Linked DNA regions of Homo sapiens: regions 1, 3, 4, 5 and 6 are each linked to region 2. Evidence: promoter capture Hi-C in 16 types of primary human blood cells and fetal thymus (Javierre and others, 2016). All regions are on one chromosome and are shown on one strand. Each heading gives the region's core, a stretch centred on a gene start or on the middle of the fragment in contact. The rest is flanking DNA. Distances are from core to core; before and after follow the strand shown.

Region 1 (3,108 bases), core at 387-2,886, 540 kb before region 2:
GCAAGGGTGCAGGTGGAGGGATGGCAGGCATCCAGATGGGGTGAGGTCCCTGGGGGCTCTGATAGAGCGCTCCAGAATCCCTACAGAGGAGAGGTTTGGAGGAACAGCTGGGGTGGGGGATGGAGAAGGCTTATCCAAAGCTGCATTTCCACAGCATTGGTGCGCCATGGCTCACTTAGGTGTGTGTTCAGTTGAGGCAGTTCCATCGTTTGCTCTAACGCTGGCTAAATCAGTTGTACTTACTTCTGCAGGCGACGGGCAGGAGTGCAATCTGGGTAGTACTTAAGCCAGCTGCCAAGGCAGGGGTTCCTACAGTGGACAGAAACAGGGAGAGACCTGAGTGGGAAGACCACCATGACTACCAGACCACATCTCCAAAGCGTGTGAGGTCAGGAAAACAAGGAAGGAAGAAGAGGAGGCTGAAAAGTAGAAACGGAAAACTATGTTCTGGGGGATACCAGGGAGAAGGCATGCCGGCCAGCAAACGTTTAACGGAAGAAAAACAGGGCAGAAAAGAACGTGAGGGCGAGCTCACCACCACCGGATTTAAGGGTGGGGAGCGGCAAGGCAGACGGCAAGTGTCTACTTTCAACTTAGCAGAAAACTTTCTCACTGAGAAAACAATCAGTCCTCCAATCTGGGTTTAGAGAAACAGAACCTGGTCAGACTTCTAAGATCACTGCTCTAGCTCTTATTTCACTATGTCTCTTGGTACCAGTCCTCAAAAGAGAGCCCCTGCTTTATAGAGAAACTTGAAGCACTTCCTCAAGGCGACATGATTTTACATTTAAGCTAACTCATTCAGTTTAGCCAACACCCAAGATCCTGCAATGAGTCCACATCAATAGAGGGCCCGGAGACACAGAGTGAACAGTGTGTGGTCTCTGTGCTCATGGGGCTCACACGACAACAGGGACTGAGAGGAGCACGAAGCCGCAGAAGGAGCTGTGAGGGGCTCATGAGGCACGTCAGGGAAAGTCCTCGGCGCGTCCAGAAAGGCTGCAGAGCAGCTACACGGTACTTAAGGGTGAGCAGAGGGTCAGAACGGGGCTTTACAAAGACCTTTTATTGTTTGTATGTTATACGTCAATAAGCTTTATTCTTTTTTTTTTTTTCCCATCTCACTCTGTCACCCAGGCTGGAGTGCGGTGGCACGATCTCGGCTCACTGCAACCTCTGCCTCTCGAGTTCAAGTGATTCTCCTGCCTCAGCCTCCCGAGTAGCTGGGACTACAGGTGCGCACCACCACAGTGGGCAGTAAAGGAGTGAGACCCCGAGCAGGGAGAGAGGTGAAAGGAGAAGCAGGAGAAAGCTCAGTCAGGCACGAGAGCACTGGCAATACTGTAAAGACTGGAAACGGCCACTGACTGTGCAGGGGGAGGTCCCTGGTGACTCTGCCCCAACCAGCCTGGCAGAAGTGGAAGCGGCTGCAATGGCGACTGATGTGTGTTTCTGGAACATGTAGCCCCTGCCCTGTGCCTGAGGTAAGGAATACGACTTAGCCATGAAAAGACAAAAAGAAGAAAGGGGTATTTTCCTACACCCATACAATTCAAGAATCTCTGCAGGAGAAAAAAAAAATCCATACACATACCAAAAGCAATTTTTCCCTAATAAAGAACATAATTTGCACAGATGAGTTGATAAGTTGGCCAATCGCACATGGATAAGTGCTGACTTAAAGTTACACAGGTATCTTAGTTACCTTGACCCAGGAAGTCAGGGCCTTTAAGGAAGCCACACTCCACTGCTGTCTCCACAGCCAGAATCGAGTCCCCAGCACTTCCCCCACTTCACTGAGTGCCAGCCCCTGCAGAATGCCGCAGCCCTCCCCCAGGCTGAGAAACCCTGGCCTGGGGCTACGTTTCCAGCTGCGCTGGGATGAAGAAACTTCATGGGTCAGGACATCTTCTTGTCTTAGATTCTCACTCAAACCAATGTGTGGCTAATTAAGGCAGTCTAGACTCACAGAGTTTTACCACAGGATTAAAATAATATCATACATGTGTTTTCGCCACATAAATCAGATTTTAGGAAAACTTTCCCAGCTGCAACTACTGAAAATACACAAGAAGTAACTGATGACTTAGCCCATAAGAAGTTAACCAGCTCATCCCTTTGATTCCTGTGCAACACTCACCTTGAGATGTTTTTAACTACTAGAAATAAGTAAGCTTGGTTTGTTGTTGTTGTTGTTGTTGTTGTTGTTGTTGTTGTTTTGAGACAGAGTCTGGCTCTGACGCCCAGGCTGGAGTGCAGTGGCGCAATCTCAGCTCACTGCAAGCTCCGCCTCCCGGGTTCACACCATTCTCCTGCCTCAGCCTCCTGAGTAGCTGGGACTACAGGCGCCCGCCACCACGCCCGGCTAATTTTTTTTTGTATTTTTAGTAGAGACGGGGTTTCACTGTGTTAGCCAGGATGGTCTCGATCGCCTGACCTCATGATCCACCCGCCTCAGCCTCCCAAAGTGCTGGGATTACAGGTGTGAGCCACCGCGCCCAGCCGTAAGCTTGTTTTAACATGTGAAGTTGATGGACACTAACTTTCCCAAGGATTCCGGAACTTGAAAACTGTTTAGGTATCTGGTCCTTCTTCACTGCCACCTGAGAAGGCTTGTGGAGGCTGCACTGCGGAGAAGCAGCTTCACACTCCTGGCAGCTGGGGGCTCCGTTCCTGCTCCCAGGCCGCAGCACCTTCACCAACCTGGGTGGGAGGCCGAATCCTCAGCTTAGCCAGGTTTCTGTGCTTCTCAGACACGACCAGAGGCCCCATTCCGACTTGAGCTACGTGTGTGGCAATGAATCATCCTGACAGTACTGTCAGTGTGACTGAACACGTCTAGCTTGGTGGCACACAACTGAACAAGTAGAAATGAACAGCAAGCTGCGGTGTGTCAGGACAAGCTCTAGCACTTGAATTAGACAAAGGCTGGGGCGGAAGGGTGTTGGAGGAAGTCTCTTTTTTCATTCATATCTACTCAAATAGAGAAGAACAGCCTTAAACCCAAGGGCCCAAATTAGTTTTAAAACTTGTACTACATCCTTTCTAAAAAGTCCTCAAAGCGGGCCTCGTGTAGCAACTTACAAAAGGAAATCAGGAAGTCTGCAC
Region 2 (3,024 bases), core at 259-2,758:
TATTCCATTAAGCACAGTTTAGGCTCTGAACAATCCTTTATTTTAAGGCCATCTCCTTCCCCCTTAAAATTGAAAAAAAATTTTTTTCCTCTGGCACGTTAAAGTTCAGAAAACCAAGATTTAAAAATGCCCTGGCTTTTACTGTTCCAGTCTTCTTTCTACTCTAATTGTCTTTTGCAAGTCGGACACATTGGCCTTTTATCTTTCTCCATAAATATGTTTTAAATGTGACCAATCAGCTGTACTGTTTCAACTGGGCCCAAGATCTGGACACAGAAACTTAGTATTACTGAAACCTCTTATTCGAAAAGCAGCTGGCATATTGCAGATGCATAACAAGTTATCCTAGAACAGGCGTTTTGAAAAATCCTACAAATCGTCCTTGTACATACTGATGTCACTACATGATGCAAGCCCAGACATAAAATCTTCCACCCTAAGTTTTGCAGAAACATCCACACATCACCTGTGCAACTGTAAGCTGTTCCATTTTATGGAAACCCTGCGAAATGCATCACTGTTTACCCACATCTCAACTTTTTTTTTTTTTTTTTTTTTGGCTCAACTACAGATTCCCAAATACAGGTATATACTGGTAGAATCATAACAGGCTTAAAACTTCAATGGTAGGAATAGTTGGCTCATGCAGCGTGCAAGAAGCGCTCATATGAGCCAAAAAAAAAAAAAAAAAAAAAAGGAATTCTACCAGCAATGGAAAACTCAAGATTCCAAAGCTTTACCTAGAGTTTAGGTACTGGGAACATTCCATCTCCGCACCTATTCCATCCCTTGGCCCTTCGCTGACCCATAACAGAGATTCCAACTATAACCCCCGCAAAAGCAGAGGTCCCAGGAAGAAAGGAAAGAAAGCGTTTTTTTGTTTGTTTGTTTGTTTGTTTTTGTCCTTTTTTCCTTCCTTTCAAATCATCCTCGTACCTCCGGCTTGCCCCACCTGGCTCACCTCCCAGGAGCCACACATGCAGGTAAGAGCCTCCCGTTCAACGTGCAGGGCCGAGAGGCCGGCGGGGACCGGAGAACCTCTTACCTTCGTATATCACAGCCGCGTCCTCTCGGCTGGAGAAAAAAAGCCTCGAGGCCCCGGCGCGCAGAGGAGAAGCGCGTCCTCCGTGCCGCTCCGGGGGGCTACCTCAGCGCCCCCCGAGCAGCCGCCGCCGCAGCGGTCGCGCCACGACCCGGAGCCGCCAGCACCACCTCATGCTGCTGGGCAGCCGCGGGCCGGCGCCGCTGGGGAGGTGGCAGGGAGGCGGGCAGCCGGCGACCTCTCCTACCTCCCTGCAGGGATGAGATAATCCACACCCCCAAAAGTGCGTGGGGGAGGGGGCCTGGCCCCAATCCTCCGACCCCGCGGCCAAAGCCAAGTCTCTTTCCTCTCCCGCTCAGGCCCAATTCCGGCCCCTGGGACCCAGGAGTCCTGAGAGAACAATGTTGGTGGTGGGGCGCGAGGAGCGGAAAAGCGCACTGCGCGGCGTGAGCTGGCGGGTAATCCTGGGCAGCGTTTGTGTGTGAGAGTGCAAGAGGAGCTCAGTCACCCCCCTCCTTCTCCACCTCCTCTTCCTCCCCCTCCTCCTCCTCTATCTCTTCCTCCTCCCTCAAGCACACCCCCTCTCCTAGGCCGCAGCATAGCAACCGAACATGGCGGCTGCGCAGGCGCCGCCAGTCAGTGGCCAGGAGCGGCGGCGGCAGCAACAGGAGGCGATCTCGCGAGAGGCGAGGCCAAAACCCTGCCTCGCTAGCGCAGGGAGAAGTCGCACCAGTCGGAGCGCAGAGGGACACGCAGGTGCGAGAGAGAGCGGCCTAGGAGGATTGGGAGGGCGGATTGGAGGGGGGAGGCGGAGCGCTGTGGCCCCCGCCCCGCAGCCGCGTCGCGATTGGTTGTTTGGACTGCGACCCCTGCTGCACCCACTGACCGCAGGGACCGGATAGTGGGCAAGAAGCGTGTGTTAAAAGGGAAAACCAGACCAGTTGGCAGCAGGTCGCCCCAACCTCAGTGCTCCTGGAGGATATAGGTTTTGGGGGGCAGTTTTGAATCATTTCCTCTCCTAAACGTAGGCTCCAAAACAAAGCCTCAGCAACCAACCTGCGTTTATAAAACAAACGTTCGGGGGCTCCTTCTGTGTGCCTGGAACGGTGTGCTTTTTAAAATTTAATTCCTTCTAATAACATGAATTTGGTGTTATCACGCCAGGGTTTTTAGCCAGGTGCATTATAATATTTTATTGGTGATACAAACTTATTGGTAATACCACAGTTGCCTACTGGCGAATGATCTCAGCTGAAATGGAGGAAGAAGGGATTTGGGGACCGCCACACTTCCTTTTTGCCCAATTTTTGTTAGTGCCCTTTTCTGTCGCCAGGCGCCTTCTTTGTCCTTCCTTGCTCTTAGCTTGAGCATCCTATCAGAGCCTACCTTTATAAAGACGATCTTTCAAAAACCACTTTCCCAAGCCGACAAAATGACTACAAATCAGGGGAATGTGAACAAATCTGGAAAAGACAGAAATTTCTATTGACTCTCTTCTCCCTCACACCTGTTAGTTTTTCCATTTGAAAAAGGCAACTTGTCAATCCATGTTTCCAGCTTTACTTCCTTCACTTGCTTTTCTTCCCAGATCTCTGTTGTAGCCAGTGCTCATTCATTCCTCCCTAAATATGCATTCCTGCCTCTGACTCTCCATTTTGTCTTTGATCATGCCATTCCCTCTGCTAAAATGCTCTTCACCTCATTGTCATCTGTCAACATCCAGTCATCCTCCAACCAAAGATCATATGAGACTTCCACCAGAAATTGAATGTTTCATATAAATAGAATCATACAATATGTAATTTTTGTTTAGAGGCAAGGTCTCGCTATGTTGTCAGGCTGGTCTCCAACTCCTGGGCTCAAGAGATCATCTTACCTTAACCTTCGGAGTAGCTGGGATTACACATGTGAGCCACATGGCTTACATGTAGTCTTGTGTCTGGTGTTAAGCAAGACACAAAAGTTCCTGAGTGGAACTTCCC
Region 3 (3,315 bases), core at 328-2,827, 780 kb before region 2:
CCATTTACGATCCTGCAAGCAGCAGGCAGGTGGCATCCGCCCAGTAGAGTATCTGCAATAGCAGCACCGTGATGAGTGAAACTCAAGGTTTCATGAGGACACCGGGGGGCGGGAGCACCTTCAGGGCTCTGTGGCTAACTCAGGCACAGTCTGTGCTCAATAACTCCAAATGATAGGCCACTGTGGGCCATGAGCAGCTCCCTCCTTCCTGCCTTAATGAGCACAGTGTGGAGACTGAACCTCAGTCTCCTAAAGGGATGGAATTAAAGGAATTGGGTCAGCCCACTCATCTTACATCTGGGCGTACCAGGCGGTGACACACCCAGGCTGCATAGCCACACAATGCGCACCCTTGGCTGGCCCAGCTCTGCTCCCCTCCAGGCCCAGCAGCCTCCTTCAGCTGCTGAAGCTGAGGGCACTGGGGCGCTAAGGTCCTCACCGGCTGATGCTTTGGGCAGGTGCTGGGAGGCGAGGAAGAGCCCATGGCACCATCTGACTTCTCAAGGTGCCCTGGCAGGGTATCTTCCTGAGATCTCCTGGGGAGGTGGCCAGATGAGAGAGATCAGAAATGAGGGCAAAACCGCAGAGGCCAGAGCTGAGCTCTCCATCCTGTGCAGTCACCAGGCACTAAGGCCAGAGAGAAGAGGAGAGCCCTGAGCGCACAGTCAGGGAAGGCCTTGTGCAGAGGCGGCACCTGGGCAGGACAGGAGGGATGGGCAGAGGGGGTGGCAGACGGCAGACAGCAAGGACAAAGGGGAGGAGGTGGGAAGGTCCCCAGACGGCATGGAAGACAGAAAGGGAAGCCCCTCCAGCCATTCCTGCCAGAGACCCTGCCAGGGCCCAGGGGTGGGCTTGGCAGACTGAAGGGCTCCTTGCCAAGGCTGATAAAGGGAGTCTCTCACTAACTGGAAACAGGGGGCTTGCAGAACTGAGAGCCCTGTGAGAAGGGTCTGGATTCTGGTGACAGGAAGATTGGCAGGGCTGGGATAGTGGCTCGGAGCCCCCAGGGCCTGGTCCCAGAGGCTCAGACAAATGCCATGGTCCCAGGAGGCCCTTCCTTGCAGTAAGCAAAGATTTCCTCAGTTCTTTTGACTACTCCCTGGGTCAGGTGGCTTCACCTCGCTGAGCCTCCGTTTCCTCCTCTGTAAAATGGATGTGTAACCTGATAGGCTTGTTTTGAGTAGTTGCTGAGATCACAGGCCTGGCACAGAAAAGTGCCCTTCAGTTGCGGGCTCCGTGCCCCCTCGCCCAGCACCCTGTGCACCCCTCTGGTTTCTCTAGTTATTCACCAACTCTGCCCCGGTGCACTGCCTGCCTAGGGCTGAATGGAGCAGTGCGGGGGTAAATCAAGCCCACATGTCTATCACCAGGCACTAAATCTCCCCAGGGACATTCCTTACTGTAGCAGTAATGCCGCCAGCTCCAGGGAACAGGGTTGCACCATAGGGCAGGCTCCCCACACCCGGGAGGCTTAAAGGGCCAGCTCCAGCAGAAGCAGCAGGCCCAGCCTTACATGGGCACAGACGTGTCAGCAACAACAGCACCCCGCTGCAAAAATAAACAAGCAGCACCGCCGTGTCCAGAGACTCACAGCGTAGGGGATCAGAGCTCAGGCTCTGAAGTCAGACCAGGTCTCATTCCCAGTTGAGCCACTAAGCCATGTGGCCTTGGACAGGTTACTCTCCTCCCTGCTGTCCACCTCAGTTTCCTATTGGGCTGGCAGGTCTATGGTGAGGACTGAAACGCTGAGAGTCCCTGGTGCACATCAAACACTCCCTTGTAGCGCCATTGTTAATCAAGTGCCACGCACATGTGATTTGGTCCACTCCAAAGTTTCCTAAGGAAGAGACTGCTATTGTCCTTAAATTTCCAGAGGAGAAATAAAACCAAATCTCGGGCTTGTTTGGGCTGTGTGATCAATGGTCATCGCGGGACACTTGGCACTTGACCTGTGCTCCATGCAGTGAAGGGGATGGGCCCAGGCCCGGGCACTGGGAGTCCTGGCTGCTGTGCCTGCTGCACCCGCCCACTGCCCTGTCCTCCCTGGCTCCCCACCGCAGGCAGTTGTCAGGGCCGGCTTTCCCTCGCATGGTCTGATCACAAACCAGGAAGGACGGCACAAGAACTGATCTTTGTTGAGCCCCACTGGGTGAGGAAGGCCCCTTCGCTCCCGATCCTCCTCCAGCTCTGCCGGGAACTGCTTTGGAGAAGAGCAACTGGAGGATCAGAGAGGCTGTATGCCTGCCCTAGGTCACTCGGCTGGTGGGGGCATCGCCAGGAGTAGAGCCTGGCCAGCTTTGAAGCCAGCGTTCTTTCCTCTCTAGCCCACGTGCCTGGTTCAGTCTACAGTACCCCTCACTCCCAGAAAAAGAACAAAAGCATTCAACCCATGGCCTGTCTTCTGGGCTGCGAGGGACGGCCCTTTTATTTATGACAACCGGCTGGCTAAGATCAAAATGACCAGTGGGAAACACCAGTCTCTGTGGATGACTTTGTCATCAGATCACTCGAGAGAAAAGAGCATTTATCTGTCAGAGGCTCACTCTTCCTCTGCAATACCTTCTGAAATTATTGAGGGGATTTAAAACAGGAAAATACAATGTTTTCCTCATGAAAAGAACGTTTCTATTAGAGAAAGCATAGGAAATACAGAGAGATGGGGTCGGGGGAAGCCCTTAACCTCCCACCCAAAGGTAACCATTAACCTGTCTGTGCCTTCCTCTATCAGCTTTTCATTCTTTTTCAGCAAACATTTGTTGAGATCCTCCCTTCAGTGGTGCCGAAGAGCTGATTATGGTAGAATCTGTGCCCTCGAGCTCACTGTGTGCCGGGGTGCAGGGCTTTTGATTTTATAGGATGTTTCAGACACCTCTTGGGCACCACTTCAAGGGAGACTGGCTCCGTGTGGGTTTGCAGCAGCTTTGTGCAGAGGTGACGGCCCTTTGCCTGTGACCACCCTTGGTGCCTCTCCAATGTTGCAGCCCTCAGCCTTTGTGCATGGCCAGCCCAGAAGTGCGGTGTGCTCTGCCCATGAACGCGACCCAGTGGACAAACGCTCCCCATTTTGTTTCCTGGGTGGCTGGTCTGAGCCACATTTTACAAGGCTCCAGTGGGGTGGAGCTCCAGTTGTCCACAGTGATGGTCAACAGAACCATGTGCTCTTGGTGGATTCGTTTTCCCTCCTCCCCTTTCTCTCTCCAGTTCCCTCAGGCTAGTCCCTGGTAACTGTTTCCAAATAAACTACCTGCACACCAGCTTTTGGCTCTGCTCCCAGTTTGAGACTGTGGTCATGCTATACATACAATTTAGGAAGGG
Region 4 (3,335 bases), core at 411-2,910, 600 kb before region 2:
GGCTCAGGGACCACCTCTTCCAGGAAGACCTCTCAGATACCCCCACCCCCAGAACACTGGGCTCCCGCAATAACCTCTTGGGCGCCCTACAAAGAACTGTGAACATGTGATGGAAGATGTTTCAGACACGCGTCATGGCTTTGTCTAGCACACAGGACCCCTCAGTCACCAGCCCCTGAGAGGACCACAGTTCTCGTCCTATTCCCCACTCACCTGGGCACCCCTGCCGTGTGTGTCCACTGATGTTCCTGCAGCTACCGGCTCTGGCCTGGGCACTGCCCTCTCCTCTGGGTTCTACCCATCAGTTACAAAGGGCCGACATGCAAGGCCCAAGCAGAGCAGTTTCAGAAAAACATTTAGGGAAAAAAGCCAAGTGTTCCTGGCAGGCCCTGGTGCCCTCCTGACCCCCACATCAGCCCTTGGGTCTCAGAGCCCCAATTGGCAAGGCCCCAGGCTCCAGACCTGTCCAGATCCCCCCAAGCCCCTCGGTCTGAAGCCTGGCAGCAATCCAAGGCTGGGCAGGCACTCATGGTGCCCAGGTCTCACTGAACAGCTGTGTAAGAATGAAATGAGATGAGAGAGTGCCTGTTCCATGCGTGGCCAAGAGAACACGCTCAAAGTCCTGCTTCACACTCGCTGTGGGCCTGCAAGGGAAAGGTGGTGGCCATTCTAGATGTGGCCCACGTGAGTCTCTGAGTCCTGAGGACTGTACCCAACCAGGTGAGCTGGCCAGACTGCTCTTTGAGGTGGCCCAGCCTTAGGCCAGGGCCTAACATCATAGCTGAGCATGTCAACCTTTTCTGGAGAGGCTCCTGAGGCAGCCTACTCTCTCAGGGACCATCCTGGGCACCGTTTTTAAGGTTTCTGGGGTGGTTATGACACCTGCCTCCAGCTCTGCCTCAGGTGAGGCCTGGCATCTCAGGGAAGAGGTCACACACACCCACTCACTCACAGAGGAACCTCATGGGCTGGGGAAGGTGAGGGAGCTCTGGAGCACCCCACCCTGGAGAAGGGATGAGGACCGTGGGGCTAGAGGACATGGATGGCGGCCGCCAGTGAGGCTGGAGACGGGGCTGCCCGCGGGGGAAGGCGCTTCTGCTGCTGCGTTTTATGGTGTTTTTAAAATTTTTAGTTGTGGTAAAACATACCTAACATAAAATTTACCATCTTAACCATTTCTGAGTGTATTCTTCAGTTGCATTAAACACATTTACATCGTCGTGCAACCATCACCACCATCTTGCTTCAGAATTTTTTCATGTTCCCAAAACTGAAATTCTGTACCATTAAAATCAACTCTGCATTCCCCTGCCCACACCCCCGGCAACCGTCATTCTACTTTGCATCTCTGTGAATCTCACTACTCCACGTTGACTTCCTTACACAAGTGGAATCATGCAGTTTGCCTTTTTGTGACTGGCTTGTTTCACTCAATATAATGTCCTCAGGGGTCATGCATGTTGTAGCAGTTGACAGAATGCCTTCCATTTGAAGGCGGAATCATATTCTGTTGTATGGAGATGCCACGTTTGTTTATTCGTTCACCTGCTGAGGGACACTGTGTTCAAAGGTGTTGCTTCTACCTTTTGGTTACGTGAAGAATGCTGCTACGCACATCAGCGTACAAATCTCTCTCCAAGGCTCTTCTTTCAGTTTTGGGGGGATATATACCTAGAAGTGGAATTGCCGGATCACATAGTAATACCTTTTTTAATTTTTTGAGGAACTTCCATACTGTTTTCCACAAGGACTGTACCATTTTGCACTCCCACCAGCAAGGCAGAAGGGTCCCAATTTCTCCACATCCTCACCAACAGTTGTTACTGTCTATGTTTTTGATAGTAGCCAACCCTAAGGGGTGTAAGGTGGTATTGCTGGTCTTTGTTTGTTTGTTTGTTTGTTCTGAGACGGAATCTTGCTCTGTCGCCCAGGCTGGAGCGCAGTGGCCCTATCTCGGCTCACTGTAAGCTCTGCCTCCCGGGTTCACGCCATTCTCCTGCCTCAGCCTCCCGAGTAGCTGGGACTACAGGCGCCTGCCACCACGCCAGGCTAATTTTTTGTATTTTTAGTAGAGATGGGGTTTCACTATGTTAGCCAGGATGGTCTCGATCTCTTGACCTCGTGATCCTCCCGCCTCGGCATCCCAAAGTGCTGGGATTACAGGCATAAGCCACAGTGCCCGGCCGGTATTGCTGGTCTTAATGCCCATCTGTTTCCCTTATTTATTTAGTCCTGTCCTGTGCTGGGCATGAGAAGGGCTCTGAAGAATCACAGAGTGCCACCCTCAGCCTTCCAGATCCTCACTCTCTAAATGTCTTCAACAGACTCACTGATAATGCATTTTGATGTTCAGGAAACTGTGATGGTCTTGGTCAGGGCCACAGGTGAACCCGTCAGCTGAGGAGGGTCATGGAAGCAGCATGGCCACCCAGGAGAGAGTCCCAGGAGGAGGACAGAAGGGGAGCAGTGGTGGTCTGCTGGGACATCTGCCAGCCAAGGAAGCCTCTGGATCAGTGGCCAGCAAACTTCTTCTGCAAAGGGTCAGCCAAAGTCCCTAAAGGCCTTGCAGGCCATATGGGTCCCTGTCCTAACTAACGTATAAATGAATGAGGTCACTGCATCCCAATAAAACTGTATGTATAGGCATTTAGTTTGAATGTCATATCATTTTCACATCATGCAATATTCTTCTTCTTTTGATTTGTTTTTAACCATTTAAAAATGTAAAAAACTATTCTTAGCTTGTGGACTTGGCCTGCAAACTCTGTTCCAGAATCAACGGCAGTGACACTCTGAGAGCTTAGGTCCCTGAGCAGCTCACAGGGACAGGCGTTCCTCGAGCTCTCTGCAGCCTGATTGCCTCCATGGGGTCAGCATCCTCGGGCGACCTGGTTCCATGATGGAACCTGAGTGCCTTCAACGCATAAGCACTGCTCACCAATCTGTGTCTGGCTCTGCGGCTCTGGTGTCGGCAGACAGAATCCATGCGCACCCGCTGATGCAGAAGGATCTTTGGGCCAAAGATAGGGAATAAGATGACATGAACTCCGGAGGAATCAGTGCTGTCGGCTTGCTTCACTATTTCCTAAAACAACTCCGGAGCCCTGTCTCAGCTTTGTCCTGGAAGGAGGATCACAGTCACTCTGGTGGCCCTGAGAGGACAGGCGGGAGGAGAGAGAGGGTGCACCCCCTCCCTCCCTGGGGCGAGCCCACCTCACAAGGTCAGCAGGGTACAGACCCCAAAGACCAGGGCTGGGGACTCAGCATGTGACCCAGGACGCAGGGGATTTAATTCTAGCCCCTCCCTGCCATGCTGTGTGACCCTGGGCAAGTCG
Region 5 (3,069 bases), core at 180-2,679, 520 kb before region 2:
CTGATTACCCCAACATTCCATTACAACCCTGATGTTTATTTACATTGCTCAGCTGGAAACAGAAAATCACAAAGTCTTTGTATCCATTAGCGTGAACCATACGTATCCCCTACTGGCCTTGCAGAGCTCTGCATGGCTCAGTTTCAGATGCCCAAGAGTCTAAGACAAACTTCACGTGGACCCTTTCTTTCTAAGCTGACTTTCCTCTAAGCTGCCAGAGACTGAAAGTCTGAAACGGTTGCTGCCAAAGCCTCTCCATCCCCAACCTTACTCTCCCAAAAAAGGCAAAAACGAGTATGTTAGGCCGAGCATAAGGAGCTTAAAATCTGACTGCTGCCACCCTGGCAGCTCCCTCCAATTTTTCTCAAAGTCAGAACTTAGACAAGAATAAAGACTCTGGGACTATGGCTCCTTCCATAATCTAATCTTCATGAAAATTCCATCACATAAGCTAAACAATTTTAAATAAGGGTTAAGCATGCACTATGAACAAAGAGTCTGAATGGTGCAGGAGACTTTAGACCAGGGGTGTCCAATCTTTCGGCTTCCCTGGGCCACATCGGAAAAACTGTCTTGGGCCACGCATAAAATACACTAACACTAACGATACCTGATGAGCTAAAAAAATATATTGCAAAAAGAATCTCTGAATGTTTTAAGAAAGTCTACAAATCTGTGTTGGGCCACATTCAAAGTCATCCTGAGCCACAGGTTGGACAAGCTTGATTTAGACAGCCGGCCTCCCTGAACACAGAGCTCAATTTCCTGACTAGATGATCTCTCAGGCAGGAGCTGCCACACCTGGCCACGCGGCAGAACCACCAGAAGAGCACCACTGAAAGAGTCCCAGTTCTCCAACTCCACCAATATTATTCAGGAGGTGTTTTTTTTTTTTAAAGTCTCCCAGGAAATTCTATAATCAGCTAGGTTTGACAATTACTGCTAAGGTCTCTTCGAGCTAAAAAATTATGATTCTAGAACCATTCTGTCCAATATAGTAGCCACCAGCCACATTTCAAATGCACAATAGCCACTTGTATTGGACAGTATAGATACAGAACATTTTCATCATCATGGAAGTTTCTATTAGCACCGTTTTAGAAAATCGATTAGAACTCCTCCCCCAAACATACATCACTTCATTTCTATTCCTTCCTTGCCCCAATTTTATTTTACAATTTCTTCAATAACTGCCACTTTCCAGTTCTCAAGTATGTTAGCCCATGAGAAAAACAGACTAAGGCCAGGCACAGCTTTCCCTGGTCTCTGTGAAGAGAACAGAAAGAAGAGAAAAAACTCTCGAATCTTCTGCATGCATCTGCCCCCTCCTCTTACCCACCCCCGCCCCCCTCCCCAACACACACACACCCAGAAACCTCCAGACCAGGCTCTCCTAGTCTCCTCAGCAGTGCTAGCTCTGTTATCTTTTTTTTTTTGAGATGGAGTTTCGCTCTTGTTCCCCAGGCTGGAATGCAATGGTGCGATCTTGGCTCACTGCAACCTCCATCTCCCAGGTTCAAGCGATTCTCCTGCCTCAGCCTCCCAAGTAGCTGGGATTACAGGTATGCACCACCACACCAGGCTAATTTTGTAATTTTAGTAGAGATGGGTTTTCTCCATGTTGGTCAGGCTGGTCTTGAACTCCTGACCTCAGGTGATCTGCCCGCCTCGGCCTCCCAAAGTGCTGAGATTACAGGCGTGAGCCACCGCGCCCGGCCCCAGCTCTGTATCTGAACTTGCTCTTGGAACTGGCAACCCAGGGCCTCTCAATCACTAACACTGTAGGGGAATCTTCTCTCCTTGGATCTGCCACGGCTCTGCCTCTAATGCAGGTTTCTCAACAGTGGCATTGTGGATATTTTGTGCTGGCTAATACTTTGTTCGGGGCTGTCCTGTGTGATGTAGGATGCTGAGTGCGTCCTTGGCCTCCACGCACTAGATGCTGGTAGCATCTTCCCCCAAGCTGTGATGGCCAAAAATGTCTCCAGGCACTTACGAATATTCCCTGGGGAAGCAAAATCCCCCTCTCTCACCTCTGTTAACAACTACTTCCCTAATCCTATCTCCCTAATCCTAATTCCCCTACTCACCACCCCCTCTCTTCCCCAACCTCTGTTATAGGGGAGAAAAAAGCTTTCGTAAGCAAATTATAAGTTTTTGAGCAAAAACAAACAAAAGACCTACAAAGCAGATGCAGATCTCCCAACCTGCTTCTCTTATGCAAAAACGTTTTGGGGAAATTCAGCAGATTACATTAGATTTATCCAGTTTGACCCCCCAGAATAAGATAAAGAAAAGCAGGTACCAAACACAAAAGTGTCTCATTATAAGACATGGGGAGCATGACCCAGGAGGATAACCAGGTTTGGGTTTGAAGCTTATTCATTATGGGGGCCCTTCCTTAAGATACAAAATTACACACGTAATACTGGACATTAAAGTAAATGTTGACATTGAATGAGAAATCATAATCCATTATAAAGTTTTAAAGATGAGTACTCCAGCGATCTCACCCCCGGGTGACTCTCAGTGAGGCGAAGGGAATACCCCCATGTTTCCATTTCATTTTATAAGACCGTCTAGGCTGGCTGGAGACTGTCCTGCCGGCCTTGGAGAAGCAAGCCACTGTGGTATGAGCTGCCTATGGAGACGGCACATGGCAGGGGCCTGCGGGCAACTTGTAGAATCCGAGCACCTGTGTCCTACACCCACAAGGAACTAAATTCTACCAACAATTAGGGAGCCTGGAAGAGGACCCCCACGCCTCAGAAGAGGTCACAGCCCCAGCTGACACCTTGAGTGGAGTCTTGTGGGACTCTGAGCAGAGGACTCAGCTGAGGCTCCAATTCTGGACCCATGGAAACTATGGAATGACAAATGTATGTTGTTTTAACCTGCTAACTTTGTGATTATTATACAGTAATAAAAAAAACTAATACAAACAGCACTGACATCACAAAATCCAGCAAAATAACAATATTTTTATTAATTAAACTGCCTGACATACCTCTAGAATACCTTCTACTTTTTTGTTTGCTGTATACTTTTTCTTGTCATATGCCAATGATT
Region 6 (3,209 bases), core at 289-2,788, 570 kb before region 2:
TTGCTGTGGAGGGTGGGACAGAAATGCATGGAGCTAGAAGGAACATGCAGTTGGGAGGGCTCCCCAACCAACAAGCCCTGGGGCTCCCACGCCTCCACCACCCGGCCTCAGTGGTCATTTCACAGTTCCTGTCACTTGCACTCCAGCACAGAGGATATCACAGCCCAGATACCAGAGTTTTTTCCACCCATTCCAAGGATTGGGCTCAGAGGAAACAATTAGAAGCCTCCAGTTACTCTCTGGGGCTCTTAAGAGCTCCTGTCTGGAGACCTGGCCCTCTGGGCTCAGCCGCTAACAAGAGCCATCCCCTGTGTCCCCACGGTGACCGATCAAAGCGCCACCTGTAGCGAGTTATTTAAGGAGAAGAGCTGGGCTTATGGAGGAACCGTGGAAAGATCACAGGCTATCTTCAGAGAAGCTGCTGGTGGAATTCCCAAGTCCTTACTGGGTTTGGGGCTTGATTACCCACTCAGTGCCCAGCTGGTCATCATCATGTTGGCCAACCACCAGAGGGGAAAAAAAATTGCCTCCAAAATTTATCAGCAGCCAGGTCACCACCTTTGCTGTGAGATGAAACTACATCTGAAGAATATTTATTCTGGGGAGCAGAGAAGGGGAACGGCAGAATGGTTCATTTCAAACTTTAGTGGCTTTGTCTGGGTTTTGCTCAATCCCCAGCTAACGGCTAAACTATCTGAACTCCAAACCAAAATAAATACACCTCTGAAGTTAAACAATGTTATTACATCAAGGCTGATGTAATGGTTCCAAACCATGAGAAAATAATATTCCAGCATAATGGGTCCCTCTGTTTAGCCAGAGGAAAGGCTGGGCTTCTGGCTCCTTGTCAACTGGAATTTGGCGTTTTCTATCATTGTTGAGCTGGGTGTGTGTATCTGTGTGTGGGACCTAATTAAAGATGCTTTAGGACTTGTGGTGTGAAAGCGTACAGATAGATTTTAAAATATAATTGAGTGGTACAGAGTAGGTCTCTGGACCAACCCAAAGAAGGGCCCCTGCCTGCCCTCCCCCTTGGGTCCCTCCCAGAATCAGCTTCCCCCAGAGTGACATTGAGGATTTCGATGGCCCCTCCAGGTTCAGGGATGGAAAAAGGTTATGTGGCTTAAAGGCTGTTTCATTGTGAAAGACAACTTCCAAATAAAAGAGAAAGTGGTACCCGCCCCCAGGAACATATCTGCACGTGCTGCTCTGCACCCTCGGGTGTCTCCAGGCAGACGGAAGCTGACTCCCACAGCCGAGCTGAGCTGAGCAGGGCACAGGCTTAACAGGGAACATCCACTGGGTTGACACTGCACCAATGGTGCCTACAGGCGGGCAGCTAGCTCTGCCCCTGGGCTTGAGGGCTTGGTCCCTAGGGCTCTGTTCCCGTGTACACTTTACCAGGGTCAAGTCAGGCAGACAGTGCCTGGAAGACGCGCCCTCTCACCCTCCCCCACCTCGCTGGAGGCTGCCGTAGGAAGACTTTGACATAGGGAGTCCCAGGGTGCCCGGTCAGGTTCACAAGTCAGAGACGTCTGCCAACTAATGAAACTGAGCGCTTCCGATTTCAGGTTCTCCATAGAGTGCAAAAGGCTTTTTGGTTTGGGTTTTATTTTTAACATACCATTCATCAACACCAGCTGTCAACCACATGCAGAACTCACAGCTAGCCTCTGCCCCAGGCCCATGGGCTTCTTAATCAAATCAGGCCGAGGCATGCGTGGGGAACAAACATGCATTGTGTCCTATCTCACTGAATCCTTACCACAAAATTATCATTAATCCCTCTTTGCAGATGAGGAAACAGAGGCTCAGGGAGGTTTAGGAACTGGCCCGGCATTCCTTGTGTGGCATCTGGCAGCGCTACAGACCTCATCTGTTAGATGGGGATGACATCCCGCTCCGCGGAAGCTGTGTTAGTTTGCTAGGGCTGCCCTTACAAAGTAGCACAGACGGGATGGCTCAAACAACAAGATTTATTTTCTCACAGTTCTGGAGGCTGGAAGTCCAAGATCAAGGTGTCGGCACGGTTGATGTCTCCTGCAGCCTCTCTCCTGGGCTTGCAGGTGGCCGTCCTCTCCCTGTGTCTTCACACGGTCTTCCCTTTGTGTGTGTCTGTGTCTTAATCTCCTCTTCTTATAAGGACACCAGTCACACTGGATTAGGGCCCAACCATATGACCTCTTTTTACTTTGATTATCTCTTTAGAAGCCCTATCTCCAAATCTCCAAATACAGTCACCTTCTGAAGTGCTGGGAGTTCAGGCTTGGACATATGAGTTTCGAGGGGACATGGCTCACAGCAGAGGTGCCGGCAGGGTCAGGGGAGATGATGTAGGCTGAGTGCCTGGAGCTGCATGTGCCCCCGGCAGCCTCACTTGGGTCAGGGGTGGGATGGTGTACAGCAGGTTCTAAGAACCATCACCTGTCTTTACTGGGTGCCTGCTCCACTGCAGGCCATGGTGGCTGTGGGATGGCCTGGATAGGAAAGTGCAGCGAAGACCAGCTGTTCCCAACACAGCGGAGCCATTCCAGAGAGCCAGAGCAGGCAGGTGGGGCTCTGCAAATATGTTCAACCCCCCACACCCCTGCCGACAGCACAAGACTGTGCAGGCTCTCCCGGTGCCCTACAACCTTGGGCTGGGACCTCTCTCCGACAGCCAAAGCAACCTGGACACCCTCCAGTTCTCATTTCTCCCCTATCCCCAAGCAGCATGTAGCGGGGGCCAGCAAGAATTTGCTGAATGAGTGAAGAGATGTAAGTTCTGACGGATTCACTCCTCCTGCTCTGCCCTCATTTCTTTCCTACTGAAACTTCATTTCTTCCAGAACAAGAGGCTGGGCTCAGTAGGATTCTGGACTGGACTCACTGTCCACCAGCAGGGCTGGGGCACTTCCCAGTCGGGGCTGCCCCTGGAGTGTCAGGCCCCTGGCAGACAGGGAGCAAGACCTCCCGAAAGCCCCACACACACACTCACACTCTCCATTCTTGGCTCACTCCACCCTTGCAGCGAGGATGGCAGGCTCCTATTTCCCCCAACACACCAGCAGATGTTCAAGAGGGGCATCCAAAACCCCTCGGGAATGAGCAGCAACCAGATCTGAAGTGAGAAAGTGTCAGTGCCTCCCGATGGAGGGGCCTGGAACAAGTTACCCGGGGGAGGCTTCTCTGCAGGTTTTACCACCAGGCCTGACCCTCGGCTGTCTGGA

The links. Contacts are between HindIII fragments. The CHiCAGO score rates a contact against its expected background, and 5 or more counts as called.
Region 1: a contact is called between a fragment that was not itself captured here and the fragment with the promoter of PTPN4 in region 2, in 10 of 17 cell types (total B cells, naive B cells, total CD4 T cells and 7 more). The highest score is 13.6, in total B cells.
Region 3: a fragment that was not itself captured here is called in contact with the fragment with the promoter of PTPN4 in region 2 in 1 of 17 cell types (neutrophils); the score reaches 6.8 in neutrophils.
Region 4: a fragment that was not itself captured here is called in contact with the fragment with the promoter of PTPN4 in region 2 in 1 of 17 cell types (neutrophils); the score reaches 5.5 in neutrophils.
Region 5: a contact is called between a fragment that was not itself captured here and the fragment with the promoter of PTPN4 in region 2, in 12 of 17 cell types (total CD8 T cells, total B cells, monocytes and 9 more). The highest score is 11.1, in total CD8 T cells.
Region 6: a fragment that was not itself captured here is called in contact with the fragment with the promoter of PTPN4 in region 2 in 7 of 17 cell types (total CD8 T cells, monocytes, naive B cells and 4 more); the score reaches 8.4 in total CD8 T cells.

What each region holds. Positions count from the first base shown.
Region 1 is chr2:120,300,300-120,303,407 of GRCh38, reverse strand. No RefSeq gene overlaps it. Among named protein-coding and RNA genes, the nearest start is that of INHBB, 44 kb to the left of the region's middle. The HindIII fragment of the contact is 1,080 bases long and covers 1,097-2,176 here.
Region 2 is chr2:119,758,406-119,761,429 of GRCh38, reverse strand. It overlaps PTPN4 (protein tyrosine phosphatase non-receptor type 4), which reads right to left and starts at 1,508. Exons shown (of 27, transcript NM_002830.4): 1 at 1,046-1,508. LOC101927764 (a long non-coding RNA gene) reads left to right here and starts at 1,716. Exons shown (of 4, transcript XR_007087215.1): 1 at 1,716-1,798. RefSeq lists enhancers at 652-1,276, 1,547-1,806, 1,523-1,817 and silencers at 1,007-1,306, 1,857-1,966. The HindIII fragment of the contact is 4,728 bases long and covers 737-3,024 here.
Region 3 is chr2:120,538,674-120,541,988 of GRCh38, reverse strand. No RefSeq gene overlaps it. Among named protein-coding and RNA genes, the nearest start is that of LINC01101, 74 kb to the right of the region's middle. The HindIII fragment of the contact is 6,352 bases long and covers 1-3,315 here.
Region 4 is chr2:120,360,816-120,364,150 of GRCh38, reverse strand. No RefSeq gene overlaps it. Among named protein-coding and RNA genes, the nearest start is that of INHBB, 16 kb to the right of the region's middle. The HindIII fragment of the contact is 4,907 bases long and covers 1-3,335 here.
Region 5 is chr2:120,280,846-120,283,914 of GRCh38, reverse strand. All of the region lies in intron 2 of RALB (RAS like proto-oncogene B), which reads right to left. Among named protein-coding and RNA genes, the nearest start is that of RALB, 30 kb to the right of the region's middle. RefSeq lists an enhancer at 1-282. The HindIII fragment of the contact is 1,412 bases long and covers 724-2,135 here.
Region 6 is chr2:120,329,693-120,332,901 of GRCh38, reverse strand. The region is part of intron 1 of LOC105373989 (putative cuticle collagen 91); the gene reads right to left. Among named protein-coding and RNA genes, the nearest start is that of INHBB, 15 kb to the left of the region's middle. The HindIII fragment of the contact is 6,192 bases long and covers 1-3,209 here.